6 separate regions of the Homo sapiens genome follow, and regions 1, 2, 3, 4 and 6 are each linked to region 5. Evidence: promoter capture Hi-C in 16 types of primary human blood cells and fetal thymus (Javierre and others, 2016). All regions are on one chromosome and are shown on one strand. The core of a region is centred on a gene start or on the middle of the fragment in contact, and the rest is flanking DNA. Distances in the headings are between cores, read along the strand shown. Region 1 overlaps ALG2 (ALG2 alpha-1,3/1,6-mannosyltransferase). Region 2 overlaps TGFBR1 (transforming growth factor beta receptor 1). Region 3 has its middle 14 kb from the start of SEC61B. Region 4 holds the start of ANKS6 (ankyrin repeat and sterile alpha motif domain containing 6). Region 5 holds the start of MRPL50 (mitochondrial ribosomal protein L50). Region 6 overlaps SMC2 (structural maintenance of chromosomes 2).

Region 1 (3,502 bases), core at 876-3,375, 2.2 Mb before region 5:
TCAAAGGAAGTGATAGAATATAAGTGGTTTTTGATAGAAGTAGAGGAGGGCTGCAACTGTCCCTCTGTGTGAATTCAGACAGGTCCCTTCCTCTTTCTGGGCTTGTCTTCCCATCTGTGCAATACCAAATTAGGTTAGGTGGCCTCTGGGGTCCCAGTCAGATTTGACTGGCTTTGATTCTGGGAGGTGGAAATGCAAAGGAAGGAGATCACAGGATGATTAGTGACCCTGGCAAAGGTGGACAGAGAAGGGCTGATTGTTATGATTAAAGATGGAGTGAGCAGAGTGGAGCAGTGAAGTGCTCTGGTGCTGTTTTTACTCTTTTTTTTGAGATGGAGTTTTGTTCTTGTTGCCCAGGCTAGAGTGCAATGGTGCGATCTCAGCTCACCGCAACCTCCGCCTCCCAGGTTCAAGCGATTCTCCTGCCTCAGCCTCCCAAGTAGCTGGGATTACAGGCATGCACCACCACATCCCACTATTTTTTTTGTATTTTTAGTAGAGACGGGGTTTCTCCATTTTGGTCAGGCTGGTCATGAAGCATTTGCTGAAGAGGCAACTGTAGTACAACTAAAAGAACTGTTAACCTCAAGTTGGACATACCTGGGTTTGAATTGTAGCTCCACTGCTTCCTAGCTGTAAGCCTCAGACTTTCAATCTCTAAAAATGCCTATAATTACCTGAAAGGATGCTGTGAAGAGCAAACGAGACAATCTCTAATGAGCTCTGCAAAAGCTCTAAAGGCTGTCCAAATACGTGTTCAGTAGACATTTGTCATTGGATCAAAGAACTGCACTACTACTCCCCCTTAGCTGAGTGGGTCTCTTTATGGACATGATACTCCCTCTTCTATTGGCCCATCGTGTTTTTATGTGTGTATGTATGAAGGACAAATGATATTTACGCATATCAAAGAGGAGGAGACTGAGAAATTCTGGTATGCGCAAAGTCCCGGATGGCTCAGGTAACTAAGGGCCAAATGCTGGCTCAGTTACTTTTCAATTGTGTGCCTTCAGGCAAGTCTTTCACCTCTCTGAGCTTGTGTGTAAGATGGGGGATAATCATACTCACCTCGGAAGACTGATGGGAAGAGGCAAATGGACAGTAAACAGCAAAGTCTTTCTAAACCCAAAGACCTGTACAACTACAACTGCAGTGCTGCAGAGGGAGTTGTACTGAAAAAACATTACACAAAGAATTTGGTTAGGGTGAGGGCAGACTGAAGAATAGTAAAGTGGTTGGACTTTGGAATCAGAGGGCCTTGAGATTCTGTCCATTCTTCAAGGCCATGGGACGCAGGCAACTTGCTTAACTACATTCATCTAAAAGGGAAGAATACCTACATCTCAGTGAATTGTTGAGGATTAAGCATCTGCTATGTATGTATCTCCTTTCCTGCCCTGCACAAAGTAATTACCAGAATTACTATGGATAAGGCCCCAACAATTCACCTTCAATGTTTCATGCTTCTACTTTCCCTAACTTCAGCTTAGTTTTGGAAGGTGTGAACACTTCTTAAGGGCAAAGTTCCATTCTAGGGTCCAGGAACCAGGAACTAATGGTCAGAAGCTGGAAGCTCATGGCAGGCAGGACTCCATCCCTCCCAGACCTGTGAAATCTTATTGTCACTCACTCCGGCTTAGGACAATGAAGTGAAGCTAAAATCAGGGTCCATGAACCCATGTAGTCCATTTGAAAGGATTTGCATAAAAATGGTCAAATATGCAAATGTTTAGTGCTGCTTAGTAAGGTAAGCACCATGTTGTAGGTCACAGTGTGGCCAAGTCTATCTGTGCTAAACTCCATGGTAAGAGCCACCAGGCTTCCTGGAAAGGCTGCATTTCTCAGAAACACATGAACCAAATCATACCTTCTGTACTACATGGTAAGCTTTCACAATGCCAAAGAAAATGGAATGCAACAGAACTTTTAATCCCATAAAAGACTCAATATATTTGGCACCCTCATTTTATAGTACTCCTTTTTGGTACAGAATCATTTTGCCAAAATACTCCTGTGATACAGATGCACATGATAAACTGTAAAATGGAATTTCACCCATTGAAGAGCCCCAAAAGAACAATATGGTAGTGCAGCATGAACTAACATGCAATTTCTAATTTTCAATATCCCCAAATTGCAAAATACTAATAGCTAATATATATACTATATGCCAAGTATTAAGTACTTTGTAATATTATCATAATCTGTTATAACCGCACTATGAGGAAAGTAGAATAGTACAATTATCTCACTTTGCAGATGAAGAAGCTGAGGTATAGAGATCAATTTACACAAAATCATATAGGCTGTTAGGCTCTCAAGTCTAGCTCTTAAGAGTTGATAAATGTGGAGCCTTTGGCTAGTAAGCTTTGCTACTTCTGGAAATGAATTTAGCCTTAGAAGTATGTTGAAAACTACTGTTTATGATTTGCTGTTAGACCAACAGGTAAACAGTGAACTATAAGTCAGTGTCACGAAAATATCAGTGTCATGAAAAGGCTAGAGTACATGGAGGGGGAAGATAACTTCTGGCTTGGGAGGTGGCCAGAGGGTCAAAGAAAGCTTTGCAGCAGTGGCATTTGAGCCAGGCCTTGGAAGATAAAAAACATTTGTGTCCTATACTTAGTAGGAGCTTGGTCAAGACAACACAAATATTAACAAAACTAATGACCTAGATGACATTAAGAAATATACCCTAAACAAGATGCACAACACATGTGTGACAATATTCTTGCTTCATTTCAATATCCACTTTACCCTAGTGTTCTGATTTCCAGTTTGGTTGTCATATCCATGTTCGTAACAATACCAAAATAGATTATGGAGACCAAAATCTAATACTGTTTCTTTTTTATGATAAACACCTTTTATTATATCTCAGTGTGCAAAAATACAAATTATCTTAAAAAAAATACAGAGCACTCTCGCTATGGATCCAGGCAAAGACAGGACAAACAAAAATTCCCTAACAGATGACAGTGAACACTTCGGTGGATTGAATCTGGGAACTACAATAGCCCTGCTCTCATTATACTATGAAGCCAAATTAATCAACTTTGATAATGATACACACTTAAACTATGAAAACCAATTAAGGCACAGTATCATTCAAAATTTATAGACAGAAGAGCAATAATCCCGAGAAAATATAATTAAAATACTCTGCTGAACATGGAATGACACCACATTTGTAACTTAACACTGGCAAAATTTGGAATGATTATAGCATAAAAGACATGGTTTTTCTGAAAAGTGGACAGGGAGGTGTGGTATATAGGAAAGTGGCTCACATTCAAGACTCAAGTTTATTTTTTAAAAGATCTCTTCTGCATTAGATTCTAGGTTTCTTTTTTGGTTTCAAAACTGGGTCTACAATCCATAAAAATGACATTAATGGAGATCTTAAAAACAATCTGATTATACCAGCAGTTTGGTAACATATCGGTAGAGCTGTTCTGTAAATGCTTCAGGGGAAAATTTTTCCTTCACTCTGGCTCTTCCA
Region 2 (3,470 bases), core at 221-2,720, 2.3 Mb before region 5:
TATCTGGAAAAAAATCAGGCGTTTATTCTGATGCCCTAAATTCAGGGGTGAAATATTATCTGGACTAGAGGAAAATTTTATGTACATTATATGGTGTTCTCTATTTTGACAAGCTTACTTTGATATTACTGCTGCAAGGTAGCCCCAGGAGGGTTGAATTGAGAAGAACTGAGTATTTTGAGGAACAAAACCTAGGATAGTAGGCTGGAGGGAATTGGAGGTCAGGGTTTTAGCCATGTATACAGAGATAAGCAACATATTTAATAAAAAGAAAAGGAGAATCTATATAGTATGCTTTACTCCAAAGCTGGATGAGGGAGAAAAGAGGACACGTCTCCTTGAGAAGGGGGCATGTGTTGAGAATGGAGAAAAGGGGTAAGGCAGATTACTCAGAAGAACTGGGGTAGAAGAATAGGTTGGATGATAAAAGGGGCTGACATTAGTCCCTGAAAGTTTTTTTTAAATAACTTCCAACTTTTGCCTTCACCTTTGCCAGCAGTGATGTGATCTGCTTTCAGCTGTAGTGAAGCAAACTGCATAAAGGACATTGTGCATGTTAGGTCTTTTACTTGCCTGTTGGTACATGTTTGTAATATTTGGAAATACTCTCACTGCGAAGAAAAGTATAGTTGTGCTGTAGTGGGTAGGGTGAGGAAAATAAGGGTCATCACCAGCAAAGTCAGAGTGATGAAAAAACTGGATTACAACACTCTGCTTGACTTTGCATAGATAAGTAAGCCAAGCAGAGTGTTTCCTGGATGTAGTTAAAATACAAGCTTGGAGCACAGGTAAAAGGCCAAGAGGCTTGGAGATGTACATCTGAGATGTACCAAAGGGCCAAGTGCAAAGTAAGTTTGGGAAGTTTAGTGTCATATAAAAACTAATAAAGAAAGGGTGGTACTCTGTCTCATATCCTGAAACGTTTTGAAAAGAATATTGAATTTGACCAGAAGGGCATTGCTAGTGAATTTCAAAGAGAGATTTCAGTTGAGCTCTGAACTGGAGGAAGATGGGTGATAGAAGGCTGGAGAGGGCCAGTAACAAGGGTTGAAAAAGGAAAGAGTATTCAAGCGTATGCATAAAAAGACTACGGGTAGGTTGTGTAGATGATGACACACTAAGCCTGGGAAGACAAGGTTTCGGTGCTAATTTTTATTTCTTTAACAAGGGTGATAGAAATATCTGTTCCATATATTAATACTATACACAACTGTTTACCTCTCAGCTTTTCTAGCAAGACATATGGGCTTGTGAATTAACCCTGGGTAGCCCTGGCATTAGATAGAATTAATAGTGCTTCCATATGTGACCTCGAGACGTACTGAAATGAGGCAACCAAGGAAATCCTTTATATTGGGACCAAGAGCCAAGATCTCAACTTGGGATATGTTACCCCGAGAGTTGTTACCCCGATACTATAATACCATGAATAATAACCCCAAGGGTCCTGTTGTCTCTTTTTCCTCATGTCACTTCCTTTGGTACTAACTGTCACCATGCTAACATCTGCAAACTTTGAAAATTCTGATTTATTCTGCAATATTTGGAAATTTCACTGCTAGTAATTGTATTTCCTGGCATGGTTCTGATATAATTTTCTGTGTACACAGTAGCTTTTCCTTTTAGTGCTGAATCACACTGAAATCCTTGTTTAACCTAAGTTATAGTTGCAAGGGAGCTATCAAGACAAATAATTACAGTGATGGTGAAGTGAATACAAGTCAAACATCCCAATCTGAAATTCAAAACCTTTTGAGCACACCAACATGATGCCACAAGTGGAAAATTCTGCACATAAGTACTTAACATGACCTTTGTTTCATGCTCAAAATTATTTCAAATATTATATTAAATTACCTTCAGACTATATATATAAAGCATATATGAAACATGAATGAATTTTATACTTAGACTTGGGTCCCATTCCCAAGATGTCTCATTATGTATATGCAAATATTCCAAAATCTGAAAAAAATCCCAAATCCAAAACACTTCTGGTCCTGAGCATTTTGCATGAGGGATACTCAACTTGTAATCTTTTCTATGTATAGCCAAGTTTGCACATACATAGGTTACAACAACCCATCATGTCTTAACCTTTCAGTCTGGAGGCTGGAGTTTTCTTTTTACTTTGATTGTAAATTGTATTCAGATTTTAGAAATGTAAAGCTTAGAGAAATGTGCATCTCAAGATTAAGAAAGCTATGCCCACTGTTAAAGACTGGGGCATGGAAACAAAGTTGGACAGTGTAGTAGAAAGGTCCTAAACAGGGGATTTGGTTCTTATTTTTGCTATCAAGCAGAAGAGTCAAAACTGTAGGAGTCTAAACCAAATCAGGTCCACCTGGGAGTCTTTAAAGTTCAGGGTTACTTAGCATGGGGATAGTGGTATAGCAAATAGTTGCGTAGGTTTCACTCGTGGGCTGGTGATAATATAGTGAGGATTCACATCCGCCTGTAATCTGGGTAGAATATTTGTATAAATCATTTTGGTTTTTTGGTTTTCTTTTTAAAATTTTTAAAATTGTTTTGCTTTTCTTAAGTTTTGGTTTCTACATTAATAAAATGACAGAACTGAATTGCCTAGATGATATTCAAAGTTTCATGTGGTTCTGTTAGTCTGGGATTCTACAGTGGAATTTTGTCACTACTTTTGGGAAGAAGTTTACCTTTGGTGGCCTACGAATAAAAACCACATTGGCACAATGCCATTTATCATATGGGATAATTCTGTGTGTTTATATAATCATTTATGTTCGTTTCCAAATGTGTTAATAAAGTACAGTATCTCATTTGATTAGCTCAGATGATGAAATAGGTCAGAGAGGTATTATGTTTATTTTCCTGATGAAATAAAACATCGTAGTTAGCATCTTGAACAATTTAAATTTGATCATCTTACTTGGTATGCCAGCCACTAAGGATGAAATCCTGCCACTGAGAAAGAAAACCCAGTCAGGAAAGCTTTCTCACCCTTATCTATCTAACAAATTGTACATATTCTCCAAGTTCTGACTTGAATGCTGGTGAAGCTTTTCTTGATAATCTCTTCTACCGCAGCAGAGTAGAAACACTTTGATCATTCTTCTCAGGACTCAGGATTTTAATTATCTGTTTAATGCCTTTCCCTTCCACCCTAGTGAACTACTCAAGTGCAAATACCTTGTCTTACTCATCTCTGCACCTCATAGCCCACACTGTACCTGGCATATAGAGATGCTTAGTGAATAATTGCAGAATTAAATGAAAGAGTCAAGGTGATGTGTTGCAGAGTGAGGAGAACTTGGGCTTTGGGCTGGCGGAAGGAGGTGTCTTCGTTTACGTTTTTTAGATTGAAATTTTGCCATGTATATGCGTTTAAAAATTTAAAACCTAGTTGAATAAAAGGTTGGGGGGGGCAGTATCCAGGGGCCAAATCTATCTATTAATAAAATAAATTTGAATTTTTTAAAAAAATGGCAATTAAAACT
Region 3 (3,634 bases), core at 709-3,208, 2.2 Mb before region 5:
AAGAATATGCCCCACTATTGTTTGATGTAATTCAAGCCTTAAATAGCTTTAGTTTGAGGTTTTAGATTCTGCAGAAGGAATTGGTTTTTGTATTTCAGTCCTTCTGAGCTTTGTTCATTCTATGGAGCTCTTGCAGTTATAGAGAAAGCATAGTGTTTAGGCATCAGCAGACATTTACTGGGCACTGTGTGCCATGCCCTTTTATTGGGGTTTTAGAAATGACCTGGCAAGGTCATTAGCTTAAATGGACTGGGCATTTGTATACTAGGATCCTATTCCTATCTGGGGCTACAAATTAGAAATGGCTATGTGATTATGGAAAAACCAGTAGGAAGCCCTCTCAAACCCCCTTGCCATTGGTGAAATCAAATAGTCAGGACCACAGTTTAAGAACTAGTATGCTCATGGTGTATGGGCTGTGGTGCCAGGGATTGCAAAACTGGCACTGTCCCCAGGAAATCCATACTGTGTGATCGCTTGTCCAACAGAGGAAAAGCAGAGAATCCTGAGATGCCCTAGCTGGAAGGGCTGCGAGTTCACTGGGTTTTCTCCATTGTATGACAGAGGAGACAGGCCCAGAGAGGGGAAGGGACTTGCCTGAGATTGTGCAGCAGGTTTGCAGCAGAACAGAGGCCAGAACCAGTCTTTTCTGTTTCCAGATCAGGGCTTCTTCCCAGTACTGCACTATGAACCCAATTTTGAGCCTGTGCATAAGCCTGTTGACGTCTCTAGAGGGTAGGCTCTGGAAGTAGGTAAACTAAGTGGTAGGCTTTGAATAGTGGGCATTGTTAATCAAAGGGGAAGGAGTGAAGACAGCAAGACTAGCTAGTAAAAATAAAATCAATTATGTTAGCAACTTTAGGAGAAAGTCAAGTTCATGAGACTTTATAGAGACAAAATAGGGAGAAGCAGCTAGCAGAACTGCAGTGTTTTGCATTTTTGTGACCACAAATGTTAGGTGAGCCTGGAACACAGTGAAATTGACCAAGTAGGGTTAAGGTTTGAGAAGGGCTAAACTGTTGAAATGCTATTCCTGGTCACTCTGACAACTGGGTCTCTTTCCCATGCTGAAGGCATTAAAATAAGATAAAACATGCAAATGCACCAAATTGGAATCAAAGGTATAGTCATACAAAGTCTGGATTGCTCCATTTTAAGGAAAGGTCTAGAAGTTTATGCCTCAGAAAGCAAATGAAGACATGAGGGGAAGAATTTGAATTACATATATAAAGATTAAATTAGTCCTGCAAACATGCATACTCATTTTTCTTCCCATTGACTCTGGTCACACGCATCGTAGATAATGAATCACGTAGTTGCGTGCTCTATTGTCTTTCCTGTTCTACTCAATAATACAGTTGCCAGTAAGAAAACATGCTCATTCTTCTAGGGATCTATCTAAATTGGTCTGGGTTGTAGAATATAGAGCAACTTGCTGCTTAGATGAGTGGTTCCCAAACTTTAACATGCATCAGGGGCACCTGGAAGGAATCTGCAGCTGCTACATAGCAGATTTTGAGATCACTCAACTGGGAGTCTCCACTCCCTAAAGCAGGAGCCCAAAGCAGAAATCACAATGTGGGGCCAGGGTCACTGGGCATATACTTTATTCTAGGCCCATCACCCAAACAGGTGTGTTAAATTTGTCCCCCTTTCTCTTCTTTGAAGTTGTAACCAGGGTACTATTTGTTTTGCGTTGTCTGCACTGTGTCTGGGGAAGTACGCCTTTTCGTGTGTGTGCTAGCACCTGCTGGGATGCACAGTCACAGCTGTAGAGCTGGAAGGCCCTGAGAAACCACAGAGCCCTTCATTCTGTTCTTTTTTGCATAGCAGTGCCTCTTTTTATAGAGGATGTATTAGGCTGTTCTCGCACTGCTATAAAGAAATACCTGAGACTGTGTGATATGGTTTGGGTCTGTGTCCCTGCCCAAATCTCATGTCAAATTGTAACCCCCAGTGTTGGAAGTGGGGCCTGGTGGGAGGTGATTAGATCCTGGGGGCAGATTTCCCCTTTGGTGTTCTTGTGGTAGTAAATTATTGTGAGATCTGGTTGTTTAAAAGTGTATGGCACCTCCCTGCCTCTCTCTTCCTTCTGCTCGGGCCATGTAAGAAGTACCTGCTTCCCCTTTGCCTTCTGCCATGATTCTAAGTTTCCTGAGGCCTCTCCGGCCATGCTTCCTGTACAGCCGTGGAACTGTGAGTGAATTAAACTGTTTTTTTGTTTGTTTGTTTTTTTTTTTTTTTTTTTACAAATTAGCCAGTCTCAGGTATTTCTTTATAGCATTGTGAGAAACCACCCCCATACTCTAATCACCTCTCACCAGGTTCCACCTCCAACATTGGGGATTGCATTTCAGTATGAGATTTGGGCAGGGATACTATATAGATATCCAAGCTATATCAGAAGACATGCTGCCTGAGCTCAAGCAATCCTCCTGCCTCAGCCTCCTGAGTAGGTGGGGCTACAGGCATGAACACCATGCCTGGCTAACTTTTTTTTGTTTTTTGTAGAGGTAGGATCTCAAATTCCTGGCCTCAAGTGATCCCCCTGCCTTGGCCTCCCAAAGTTCTGGGATTAGAGGTGTGAACCACCATGCCTGGCTTAAAGCAATTTTCTGATGACTGATTATGCTTTCCAGATATCTTACTCTTGAGAAAGGTGGTACCCCACATTTGAAACACAAGCATTTTGGCTCACTAGAAGGATATATCCTCCATTGTAAATAAAAAGTCGGCCTCTTTATGCATGAGGCAAGCGTTGTTTCTGTTTAGATTGGTCTGGATCTAGTCATCTTTAGTTGTTCATCTCCAGGTGAACTGAGAAAAATCCAGTGTTCTGATTTGAGAAGCCAAGAAGACCTTGGCTGATGGTAAATTTTTAGCAGGGAATCTGGTAGTGACCAGTTTGCTTAGCAGAGCTGATGGCATTCACATCACCATGTATAGAACTTGGACCAGTGAAGGCACAGCCAGCTGGGATTTGCTGTTACACATAGCAGCTTAGGGAGCCAGATTCTAGTGATCACTTATGTGTATTCTTTCATTCCTGAAATGAACTCCACTTGGTCATTGTGCTGAAAAGAGTTATCATAGCCAGCCAGACCCTGCTATTTCTAGAATGTTCTGTTTGCAAGGTTGGACCTTGGCTGGTGTCTGAAAACTTGGCATTTGAATCATTCCCTAACTGATAAGGCTGATTGGGCTGATTGACAATGTGGTTTATCCAGTACACCAGCTTTCCTTCTGAGGAAGGTAATTCCTCTGAGAGTCTGGAATTTTGGTAGTTGCCAGGCAGAAGAGGCCCATGTGGCCAGCCACCAACAAAAAAACCTTGGGTGCTGAGTCTCTAACAGGCTTCCTGGCAGAAACATTATTGCATTGATTGTTGCTAGAGAAAGGAACTTGCTTGCAGTGTTCCTTACAGAAGGGAGAGAATATAGGAAGACTGTGCATGGATTTCTCCATTCCACCCATGTCTTTTTCCTCTGGTGATTCTGTTGTGTCCTGATATGGTTTGGCTGTGTCCCCACCCAAATTTTATCTTGAATTGTAACTCCCACAATTCCTGTGTGTCATGGGAGGAACCCAGTGGGAGGTGATTGAATTATGGGGGCAGGTCTTTCCTGCACTGTTC
Region 4 (3,862 bases), core at 1,281-3,780, 2.6 Mb before region 5:
CTGTAATCCCAGCTACTCCGGAGGCTGAGACAGGAGAATCGCTTGAACCCAGGAGGCGGAGGTTGCAGTGAGTCGAGATCACGCCACTGCACTCCAGCCTGGTGACAGAGCGAGACTCCGTCTCAAAAAAAAAAAAAAAAAGAACAGGAAAAAACACTAAGGTCACCATTTCTAATACTAAAACACCCACAAAAGACCAAAGGCACAGGGTGTCTAATAGTCTGGCCTGATCCACACAGAGAGCTGGGACGATAAATAGATGCTTGCTCAGACCCAGCGTGGTGGCTGCCAGGGGTGTGGTTTTGAGCAGGATTCTGGGGGCGTATCCAGATCCAAGGAAGAAGAGCACAAGGCTGGAAGGTGTCAGCACACAGGCCATTCATTTGCCTACCCCGATGTGAGGGACAGACACACTGTACATCCTTCTGGAAGTCTTCCATATATACTACTCCTCAACTTGACCTTTTCTTATGAATTACGCAGCAGAAAGCTGGAGCACAACTCAACACAGGCAGAGATGCTACCTGAATATAGAGTCGGTGTCACACCAACTGAGGAACAGCACATTTTAAAATACCCAGGCTCAAGACTATCCTGCAGAACTTGGTTAAAACTGATGATCTGGGGTCTCTGAGACACTCTGAGGCATGTCAGTGCTGTAGTCACAAACCTCACTCAGTAAATTCCTCAGGGGGCTCACCAGGGCCCCTGTGCACGCACTTGGTGGATTGCAGAGATGAGACACACATAACACATCAGTGGCTCCCAAACCTACCATACAAGAGAATCACTGGGGAGCCTCTTCTCACACAGAGTCCCTGTCTCTTACTCCCCTCACTGCCCTGGGCCTTCTAAATCACAATCTCCAGAAAAGGAACTCAGGAATCTGCACTTAGACAAGCATCCTGGTGATTCTGATGTGTGGCCAGGTTTGGGTACTGAGGAAGCCAGTCAGCATTAACATGGTGTGATGGATGCTACCACAGAGGCCTTTCTGCTGCGGAGGGACCAGAGAACAGGGAGATATCATGGCAGGCTTCACAGAAGCCAGATCTCTAGATGCCATCCTTGCTGTCTCTCTTAACCCCTCCCCAAGGGCCAGTCGTCAACTCCTGCTGATCTACTCCCTGAATATATCACAAATTCATCTGGGTGCCCTCCCTCCGCTGTCTCCATTCTGGTCTAGGCCACCATCACCTCTCACTCAGACTGCAGCAAACTCTACCTAACCAGCCTTTTTGACTCTAGCTTACCCTAGAGTATCTAATCTATTCTCACACTTCAAGGAAAGTAATTTTTCCAAAACGTAACTCTCATCCTGTCACTCATTCTGCCTAGAACCTTCCATGACTCCCTAGCACCTTCCATGACTCCCTAGCACCCTAGGATAGCTAGCGTTTCTCAGCTCCCACACTCCCCCAACTCCCTGGCATCTGCCTTCTCTCCAGGGAGGACTAGTACATCATTCTACTCATACATTCTACGCATACCTCATTCTACCAGTCCTACCAGCTCGTGCACCCAAGCCTTTGCATGGGCCTCCCATCATGCCTTCCCACAGCCCACTTGTAATGTCCTGGCTAATTCTCAGGTATCCGCAGGTCTCCACGTGGATATAAACATCTTTTCTACCAGAAACCTTCCCCCACGTCTCCAAAATGGGTCACCTGCCCCACAGCTACTCAAACCTTTCCGGTCAAGCTCGTTCCTTTGCCTGGCCTGCCCACCAATGCCCTGGGTGGGGACTCTGCCTGGGTCTCGCAGCACCCTCAACGCCAAGCCAGGAAGGGAAGGCAGGTTCTGAGGAAACTCTTACTGCAATAAGAAATGAATTAAATCTCTAAGGTTCTAAGTCTCTACAATTCTATTCGCTGTCTCCAGATTCTATTCTGAAAGGCCAAAATTTCTAAGAATCTGATTTTATGTTAATTCAAAAGTGTTTCCACGTCTATGCTCAAAGTTTACAAAAGACTACTCAAAGTTTACCATTCCAACTCTAAGGAGTCCTTAACTCTTCACCTCCCGGGGCATCCGGCCGCCGGGGACCGCGTCTCGGGCCAGCGCCGGGCACCACTCTGGTCCCGGGCCCCCGGGCCCCGCCGCCTCACCTGGCCGCCTGCATGAGCGCGCTCCAGCCGTAGTGGTTGCGGCTGTTGACCGAGGCACCGCGGCGCAGCAGGAAGCGCACCAGCGGTTCGTGGCCCCCGGCCGCGGCGAACTGCAGTGCGGTGTTGCCCGCCTCGTCCGAGCAATCCACGGGCACCGGAGCCCCGACTGCCCCCGCCGCTGCGGCCCCGGGCCCGGCCACCTCGGCCCCCGCCGGCTCCGCGCCCGCCTCCGGCTCCGCGCCGCGCTCGGCTGGCTCCGCCGCCCCCGGCTCCAGCAGCCGCCGCGCCGTCTCCGTGTCGCCCTGGTCACACGCGCGCAGCAGCAGCTGGAAGGCCGGGGGCAGCCCGCCCTCGCCCATCGCCGCCGCCACGCGCGGCCCGCTCCCGTCCGCCCCGCCGGCCGCGTCGGCTCCGCCCCCGGATACCGCCCGCAGGCGCCCCCTTCCGGCCACCCGCCCGCGCCGCGCGCCTACTGTGTGCCGGGAGCGCGCCGGGGCTAGGGCCGCGCGCCTGCTGTGTGCCGGGAGCGCGCTAGGGCCGGGGCTGCGCACCTCCAGTGCCCGTATTCGGGAGTCCAGGGACGCTCAGAGGAGCGCCCGCCGCAGACCCGCGTGTTCCCTTTTGCCTCTTCGGCGCCCTCTCGCCGCCCTGTCCCGGGGCTCCAGAAACTTCCTGTCAGGGCAGAGGTGGGAGCGGCCACGCCATCCCCTCTTCACGCTGTGGTCAGGGCCCTGGGCCCGGGTCTGAGTCCGCAGCTGCGTGGGCCTTGACTTTACTAGCGGGCTCCGCTGACCCCACCGCAGCCCCTGGCACTGAACCTGCCCTTCTAGAATAAGGAAGCGGCTGAATTAAGGAACGAACGGATTGTTTCCTCACAGTGTCCTGCGGTGCCCTTAATGTCGCTCCTTCATCTGGGCCAGGCTGCTGGGGCTAAAAGCGCCTCCTGTTCTCTCTCTCTCCCCCACCTTTTATTTCAACTATTATTATAGATTAAAGGGTACAGGTTTGTTACATGGGTAAATTGTTACATGGGTAAATTGCGCGACGCTGAAGCTTGTGGTCCCAACGATCCCGTCACCCAGGCAGTAAGCATAATACCCACCAAGAGGTTCTTCAGCCCAGAGTCCCCTCCATCCCTCCCTGGCCTAGCGATCCCCAGCGTTTGTTGTTCCCATCTTTGTGTCCATGTGTACTCAATGTTTAGCTCCCACTTATAAGTGAGAACATGCAGTATTTGGTTTTCTGTTCTTTTTAGGTCGCTTAGGATAATGGCCTCCAGCTTTATCCATGTTGCTGCAAAGGGCATGATTTCGTTCATTCTTATGGCTGCATAGTATTCCGTAGTATTCCATCATATTCTATCGTGTATATGCACCACATTTCTTTCATTCCTTCCCTCTCTTCCCTCCCTCCCTCCCTATCCCCCTTCCTTCCTCCCTCCCTCCCTCCCTTTCTCCCTCTCTCTCTCTCTCTCTCTCTCTCTTTTGACAGGGTCTTGCTCTGTCATCCAGGCTGGAGTGCAATGGTGCAATCTCTACTCACCACAACCTCTGCCTCCCAGGCTCAAGCAATCCTCCCACCTCAGCCTACCGAGTAGCTAGGACTGCAGGCAAGTGCCACCACACCCGGCTAATTTTTTGTATTTTTGGTTGAGAAAGGGTTTTACCATGTTGTCCGGCTGGTCTCAAAGTCCTGAGCTCAAGTGATTCACCTGCTGTGGCCTCCCAAAGTGCCAGGATTACAGGTGTGAGCCA
Region 5 (3,712 bases), core at 976-3,475:
ATACATGTATACACACACATACACAATATTTAAGGCTGAATAAAATGCCATAAGTGTGTCTATATGTATATGTGTACCTATGTATGAATATATGTATATATTATGTGCTTGCATATATACACACACAAAAAATGGCATTTTATTCAGCCTTAAAAAAGGATATTTGTAACACATGGATGAACCTGGAAAATATTATGCTAAGAGAAATAAGCCAGACAGAGTAATACCACATGATCTCACTTATATGTAGTATCTAAAAAGTCAAATTAGGCCGGGTTTAGTGGCTCACGCCTGTAATCCCAGCACTTTGGGAGGCTGAGGTAGGTGGATCATGAGGTCAAGAGATCGAGACCATTCTGGCCAACATGGAGAAACCCTGTCTCTACTAAAAATAAAAAAATTAGCCGGGCGTGGTGGCGGGCACCTGTAGTCCCAGCTACTCGGGAGGCTGAGGCAGGAGAATCGCTTGAACCTGGGAGGCGGAGGTTGCAGTGAGCCAAGATAGCGCCACTGCACTCCAGCCTGGAGACAGAGTGAGACTCCATCTCCAACACAAACAAAAAAAAAGTCAAATTCATAGAAACAGAGAGTAGGATGGTGGCTACCAGGGGTGGCGGAAATGAAGAGACGTTGGACAAAGGTAAAATTTAAATTATGTAGAATGAATAAGTTCCAGAGATCTAATGTACACCATGGTGACGATCATTAATAATACTGTACTGTATACTTGAAATCTTCTGAGAGTAAATCTTAAGTGTTTTCACCACACACACAAAAATTCTAACTGGCCAGGTGTGGTGGCTCACCCCTGGAATCCCAGCAATTTGGGAGGCCAAGGTGGGAAAATTACTTGAGTCCAGGAGTTCAAGACCAGCCTGTGCAACATAGTGAGAACTCCTTTCTCTAAAACAAAACAAAACAGAAAGTATGTGAAGAGATGAATATGATAATTATCTTGACTAATAATCAACATCAAGTTGTATATCTTAAATATATAAAATTTTTAAAATAGTAAAGAAAATATAATCATCATTCTCAGTAATCTATTTCCTCTAGTTTTCTTCATAATTTACCACTTTCTGAAATTACATTACACATTTGTTCATTTCTTCCTCCATTAGAACATATGCCCTACGAGAACAAAAATTTGGTCTGTTTTAGTAACCACTGTATTCTTACAACACCTAAGATATAGCCTGGCATATAGTAAACAGCCTAAAAAATATTTGTTGAGTGAATGAATAAAACAAACTTGGAAGAGATTTGAGAGATAATAACAAATATTGACCAAAGAAGAGGGAAAGCTAATATCTGAACTGATGAAAAAGATCTTTCCTAATTGTAGTGGTTTTTGTTTTAAACCTAAGAGAGCATACATTGCTCCCTAGGGTTCCTACCATACGTTTTGATTTCCTAAACACTATCTAAGTCAAATTAGATTTACCTTCAAACAATTACACATGGTGCAGCCGTGCAGCAGAAAAAGCAGTAGATGGGGAGTTAGGAGACATATGTTCTAGATCCAGCTTTGCAATTAACTTGCTTTGTGACTTTGGGAAAATCACTTCCCTCCTGTGGGCCTGTTTCCTCATATGTTGGAGTACCTCGAGGATGAGAATGGATTTTGTTTTTCCTGCTGTATCCTAGGCGCTTAGAGTAATGCTGGCCCTAAGAAATCTGTTGAATGACTGAATGAATGAACAAACAAAAGGAGGAGGCAGTACTTCATTACTGAACCTTGCTTGTGAAGAAACACAGCCGGCAAATGAGTTTAGTTTACCAAGCGCTTTCATGTGTTTGCAGACAACACACTCGGTGTCTCGCACACGAGGTTAATCCTGCTTGCTTAATAAATAAATGAATGAGTGAAGTGAAAAGGAAAGGGGGTGGTATTTCCGTTATAAAATGAGAAAACTAAGGCCGAGAGTGGAAGAGACTGGGTCCCACCACTCAATGAGTGCTTCTCAACTCGGGACCCTAACCGGACCTCCTTGTCCTTGCTCTGATCAGGCGCGGGACCACGATGGCGTAACACTCTATTTTGAATTCGTCCCTAATCCTCCTTAACTTTCCTTGAACATGACCCACCGTCCACCATAAAGCTTTACCTGAATCGAGACCAAAATTCTCTACATGGTGTCCCTGAGACTGTCCACATGAAGACTCTTCTGGTAATGCCCGACACAGATCGCGCCGCCATCTTCGATGAGATCCACGGGCCTGAGCGCAGCCTTCAGCCAGCAGTGACGCGCCCAGACCAGCCAATCGGATACAATCCCAGTGGCAAGAGCTTTCTTTTTCCTGTAGGCTCCCTCGCCCTTTGCACGCTGGGAAATGTAGTCCAGTAGCTGTTGCTGGCGGCGTCTGGACCGCGGCGCTCTTTCCGAGCATGACGGGAGTTGTAGTTGAGGGGGCCTCGGGAAGAATCTGGGTGACGCCTTCTGGTCCGGGGGCGGGCGGTCATAGCGTTACTTGGCTGCAAGGAGGAGGAACTGGCAGCGGGGAGGAGGCTCTAGCGAGGCCTGAAAGGCTGCGTAACCAGGCAGGAGTAGGGGTTGGGGTTCGGGGTTGGGGGACAGCCAGGGATCGCGTCTGATATGCTGTTGGGGTCGTGACCGTCTGGGGGCCGAGGCAGGCACTGGCCAGACCCAGCCAGGGATCCTCGTATTCGTCGAGCCTAATTTCCAGCAGCCGGGTAGGCCTCACCAGAGGCTCCTTTCCGTGAGGCCGCCCCCAATTCCTGCCCCTATTCTCTGCCTGGGAGATGGCTTCCCCGAGCCCCCCGCCGGAGTCGAAGGTAAGTAAGCACCCCCCCGGGGATCCCGGTTGTCTCGCCGCTACCCCAGCTAGGCCGCACCACTGCTTTCTCCCCCAGGCCCCCCACCAACCTCCTGACCGCCTCTTTAGGGCCAGCGCCTTGCAAGGAACTCCCCACTAGTGCATTGGGGTGCGGTTCGCGAACAAACTGCCCACTGGCTCCCTTTTTTTTTTTCTTTTTCTAGAGAGACTTGATAAATCGGCCTGAGAAAATAAGTAATGCTCCAGACTAGCTCTCTCATTTGTGAGTTCTCCAGGTGAAGCACCATTTTTGACCTTCCCTTGTGTCTTCTGTTCCTGGCACAGTGCCTGGACCCCAAGGTACACGCTTAGAGAACCTCAAGGAATTGAATTGAATAGAGTCACAAGCCAGTGCAAATGGAAAATTGAAGTAGGCAATGAGGTGAGGGAAGCTTGGAGAGGCCTTGGGGCAGTTTACTAAAATTAAACTCTCAGGGCATAATAAATCAGAAAAGCCTTATCCGTAGGTCCTTTCTAGTCTGAGATGTCTGTCAGTTACAGTTCGTTCCCAGAATTGGGCAACATATGGAACTTTCAGTTATCATGTTCCTCCTAGCCTACTTGGCCACAATAAGTGATTGCCTCTGTCACTTTTAGTGGTAGAATTGTCCTTGAGACAACAGGAACTGACTACAGAAATCATACTATTTCAGGGGTTGCTGACATTTGAGGATGTGGCTGTGTTTTTTACCCAGGAGGAGTGGGATTATCTGGACCCAGCTCAGAGAAGCCTGTATAAAGATGTCATGATGGAGAATTATGGAAACCTGGTCTCACTGGGTAAGAATCTGCTGTTTCTCTAATTAAAATATCTAAGAAGGTAGAGAGAAATCAGACTAACAGAACATTTGGACGGAAACCAGTACCAAAACTG
Region 6 (3,930 bases), core at 251-2,750, 2.7 Mb after region 5:
AGCAACGTGGCAAAACCCCATCTCTACTGAAAATACAAAAGTTACCCAGGCGTAGTGGCGTGCGCCTGGAGTCCTAGCGACTCTGGAGGCTGAGGCACAAGAATTGCTTGAACTTGGGAAGTGGAGGTTGCGGTAAGCTGCGGTAAGCTGAGATTGCACCACTGCGCTCCTGCCTGGGCAACAGAGGAAGACTGTATCTCAAAAAAAAAAAGAAAAAAACAAACGTACAAGATGTTTTGATACATATACATAGTGAAATGATTATTGTAGTCAGACATATTAACATAGCCATTCACCTTCCATAGTTACCTTTTTTGTGTGTGACAGCACCTAAAATTTACTCTTAGCAAATTTTCAGTATATAGTATTAATTATAGTCCTCATGCTATACATTACATCTCTGAATAGGTAGATTTATTTATCCTACCCAACTGCAAATATGTACCCTTTGACCTATGACCTACTTCTACCCATTTTCTTTCACTCCTCATCCCTGATAACCACTATCCTACTCTTTTTATTTGTTCAGCTTTTTTTTTTAAAAGATTCCATGTACAAGTGAGGTCATACAGTTTTTTATTTTTTCTTCGTCTGATTATGTCACTTAGCATCATGTCCTCTGGGTTTATTCATGTTGTCCCAAATGGCAGCATCTCCTTTTTCAAGTTCAAATGATGTTCCATTGCATATGTAATTATAACTTGATTGGGATAAATGGCACTAAACATTCATTTATTATAGACTACTAAACTTGCATTCTCTCAATTTTCTGTCATTTTTAACATGCGTTTTTTAAATTCAAATGTGTGTTGTAGGTTACTGGTAAAAAGCTACTAGAAAGGGGGGAACTGAAACGTCGATACACTATAATTCCACTCAATAAAATTTCAGCCAGATGTATTGCACCAGAAACTCTGAGAGTTGCTCAGAATCTTGTAAGTCTCATTTTGTCTTATTTATATGTTTAATCGTCATCTGTGGTTTTTTTAAGTTAGAAGACATTAATTTTGAGGGACATAATCATATGCAGAACCACAAAATTAAAATACAAAAAAATTGGGTTGGCTTGTGCAATTAGATGATAAGAGAATAGAGATGTTGGAAGACTTGAACTCCTTTTGATGCTTCACTTTGTGGTATTAGAATGTCCTTTTTAACCTTAAGTCACATGACTATCAATCAGGTGATGGTGAAAATTACACTCTTGATTCCTGAATGGTTAGAACTGAGCTTCTAGATACGTACCCCAAATTCTTCAAGTTTTTGTTTTTGTTTCTTTTTATGTCAGGCATACTAAAACTGCCCACAGTCACAGCCATTATGGAAGGCCTTCATTAGTATTGCAGTGATGCTTCTTTATTAGAGTTCTTCTAGATTGCTATTCAGCCTGTGCAGGTACATAGCAGGTGACCAGGATCCCATTCAACTGCTGACGTTGATCTAAAGTGACATGCTTGCTAGTAAGAAAATAGATTAGTACAAGGAAATACATTTAAAAGTTATTGTAGTTGTGTAATACTGTAAAAACATGAAGTCAGTCATAACATTCAGCTGTAATATCAGTTTTTTTATTGATCAGACATTCCAAGTACATCAGTTGAAAAGACATTTCTATGAAACTTAAAAATATACTTGTAACTAAGTGGATGTTGTTGTATCCTTAGTTACATTCAGAAGATTTCAATGCAAATGATTTCAAAATACAGTTGTGTTGATATGTATACTATCAGGAGAGGGAGGATGAGTGCTGAGTAATTGAAAGGTGATGTTTTTGGTTGGTACTTTCTTTACTTGAAAACTCACCATTAAGTCAAGAAGGCTCAGGAAGTTAATTCAGCCATACATCGAGTCCCAGCATTAGAAGGAAATTGGGATTTCAAGTAACAGCAAAAATACTTTGCCTCAAATCCTTTAGCCAAACCTATTTGATGGTAGCTGCCACATCAAAGAACAATACTGAACATGTGTTACATAGAGCTTCCTTCATTGTGACTGCCACTGCTGATACTAAGCTCTAAAAGAGATGCTTAGTTTTTCTTAAATGATGGGCAGAGGTAGCCTCTATAAACAAAGGCTGAGAAGAAGCATTGTGATCAAAATAGAGGACTGGGGATTTTTTAAATTACTTTTACTCTCAGTTATTGTGTTTTCATTTCTGTAACTGGCAGACGACTGCTCTAGCATGTTTCATTTGTATGAGAAAATATTTGTTGTGAAATCAAATTCCTGATTATTGAAACAACATTTTCATATAGTTGTGTTGATCTGGAAATTATAGGTTAAGCACTCCAAGTCCAACAACTGAAATTTTCCAAAATTCAAAACTATGACACCCAAAAAATGCTCATTGGAGTATTTTGGATTTAGAAAGTTCAACCACTGTAATACAAATATACCAAAATCTGAAAACAAACACTTCTGTTCTAAGCATTTAGGATAAAGGATACTCAATCTGTACTATAATTAAAGTTGTGTCCAGTCAACGTTGGTGAAGGACACTTAGAAACATGGTAATGGCTCCTTATTGATAGAAACTTTCATAATGCTCCATACTAGCTATTAATAAATATTTTACTTAGCAATAAATCTTTCAGTATTTAAACCTGCAGTTTTTTTTTCCTGAAACTTTGAGTTTTACATAGCTTTTTAGAAAATTCAGAAAGAGTTTTAATGCTAGGTAAGTATTATTTAAGTTTCTATTACAGCAGTTTTTACTGGTTTATAAAATCATATCTGAAAGGAAAAGTAGTAGTATGTACTGTGGCATATCTGTTGTTGTCCCACAGGTTGGCCCTGACAACGTTCATGTGGCTCTTTCCTTGGTTGAATATAAACCAGAACTTCAGAAAGCAATGGAGTTTGTCTTTGGAACAACATTTGTTTGTGACAATATGGATAATGCCAAAAAAGTGGCCTTTGATAAGAGGATAATGACTAGAACTGTAACTCTCGGAGGTGATGTGTTTGATCCTCATGGGACATTGAGTGGAGGTAAGTTTTATATCCTTTTCTCCTCACAATTCTTTGTGGTAAATAGGAAGATGCCTTTTTTAAGTACATTTTTAGCCCAACTACCCACTTCTTCAGGAAACATGTTAACTTCTCATTTGTGTGTTTGCCAGTGCCACCTACCTCCTGTCAAAAGTAAAACAAAAAATTAAACCTGCCCTTGAAATGGTACCTTAATGCCTTAAAGGAATTCTTAGACAGTGATCATATTCTTCTTGGTCTAGTATTTGCCACACTGAGTTTGCAGATCTTTGTCAAGACAATAGAATAACAAACACTGAATAATATTTACTGTATACCAGACAGTGTTCTACACTATGCTGTCCAATACAGTAGCCACTAGCCATATGTGACTTTTTACATTTAATTAAGTTAAAAGTAATTTCCTTGGTTGCATTAGTCACATTTCAAGAGCCCATAATCACAAATGGTTAATGGATAATTCGACAATGCAGATATAGAACATGTCTATCATTCTATAAAGCCCTATTCTATGGGCTTTAAATAAGAATTAGTTCTTAATAACAACGATGAGGTAGGCATATTATTATGATCTCTAATATACAGTTGCAGAAATGAAGATACAGAGTGCTTAAATAACGCACTACAGGGTGGCAGAGCTTAGAATCTGAATCCCAGCAGTCTGATTTCATAGTTTGTGTTTTTAACCCAGTAGACGGCATAAAGCCACTTGAGGTATCAAGTGACTTAATGTTGCTCTCGGCCACGAAAACATTAGCCGGTTCAGTGAATTCCATGACTAGGTATCAGATTCTCCAGTACACAATCAAATGACTAGTATCTGCAAATGGAAGATAAAAAGAGACTGTGTTTTTAAATGTCTACAAGAGAAGAAACTTTTTAGATTTTGTTGATTCAGATGCTTTTGAAGTTTTTACTTATAGGATATGAAATAAGTAA

The links. The method cuts DNA at HindIII sites, captures the fragments that hold promoters and counts their contacts. A CHiCAGO score of 5 or more calls a contact.
Region 1: a contact is called between a fragment that was not itself captured here and the fragment with the promoter of MRPL50 in region 5, in 1 of 17 cell types (total CD8 T cells). The highest score is 10.2, in total CD8 T cells.
Region 2: a fragment that was not itself captured here is called in contact with the fragment with the promoter of MRPL50 in region 5 in 1 of 17 cell types (total B cells); the score reaches 5.7 in total B cells.
Region 3: a fragment that was not itself captured here is called in contact with the fragment with the promoter of MRPL50 in region 5 in 1 of 17 cell types (fetal thymus); the score reaches 9.1 in fetal thymus.
Region 4: the fragment with the promoter of ANKS6 here is called in contact with the fragment with the promoter of MRPL50 in region 5 in 1 of 17 cell types (fetal thymus); the score reaches 6.2 in fetal thymus.
Region 6: a fragment that was not itself captured here is called in contact with the fragment with the promoter of MRPL50 in region 5 in 1 of 17 cell types (naive CD8 T cells); the score reaches 6.2 in naive CD8 T cells.

The regions. Positions count from the first base shown.
Region 1 is chr9:99,214,517-99,218,018 of GRCh38, forward strand. ALG2 (ALG2 alpha-1,3/1,6-mannosyltransferase) reads right to left here. Exons shown (of 2, transcript NM_033087.4): 2 at 1,909-3,502. The coding sequence ends at 3,418. Among named protein-coding and RNA genes, the nearest start is that of ALG2, 5.7 kb to the right of the region's middle. The HindIII fragment of the contact is 480 bases long and covers 1,886-2,365 here.
Region 2 is chr9:99,121,135-99,124,604 of GRCh38, forward strand. The region is part of intron 1 of TGFBR1 (transforming growth factor beta receptor 1); the gene reads left to right. Among named protein-coding and RNA genes, the nearest start is that of TGFBR1, 18 kb to the left of the region's middle. The HindIII fragment of the contact is 1,393 bases long and covers 775-2,167 here.
Region 3 is chr9:99,234,321-99,237,954 of GRCh38, forward strand. No RefSeq gene overlaps it. Among named protein-coding and RNA genes, the nearest start is that of SEC61B, 14 kb to the left of the region's middle. The HindIII fragment of the contact is 4,242 bases long and covers 1-3,634 here.
Region 4 is chr9:98,794,025-98,797,886 of GRCh38, forward strand. ANKS6 (ankyrin repeat and sterile alpha motif domain containing 6) reads right to left here and starts at 2,531. Exons shown (of 15, transcript NM_173551.5): 1 at 2,109-2,531. The coding sequence starts at 2,467. RefSeq lists enhancers at 1,794-2,294, 2,295-2,795 and a silencer at 2,054-2,673. The HindIII fragment of the contact is 11,591 bases long and covers 1-3,159 here.
Region 5 is chr9:101,396,393-101,400,104 of GRCh38, forward strand. MRPL50 (mitochondrial ribosomal protein L50) reads right to left here and starts at 2,226. Exons shown (of 2, transcript NM_019051.3): 1 at 2,109-2,226. The coding sequence starts at 2,200. It overlaps ZNF189 (zinc finger protein 189), which reads left to right and starts at 2,459. Exons shown (of 3, transcript NM_003452.4): 1 at 2,459-2,797; 2 at 3,492-3,618. The coding sequence starts at 2,765. RefSeq lists enhancers at 1,339-1,868, 1,869-2,397, 1,930-2,459. The HindIII fragment of the contact is 1,128 bases long and covers 2,101-3,228 here.
Region 6 is chr9:104,115,385-104,119,314 of GRCh38, forward strand. It overlaps SMC2 (structural maintenance of chromosomes 2), which reads left to right. Exons shown (of 25, transcript NM_006444.3): 14 at 816-935; 15 at 2,787-2,991. Among named protein-coding and RNA genes, the nearest start is that of SMC2, 23 kb to the left of the region's middle. The HindIII fragment of the contact is 8,542 bases long and covers 1-3,930 here.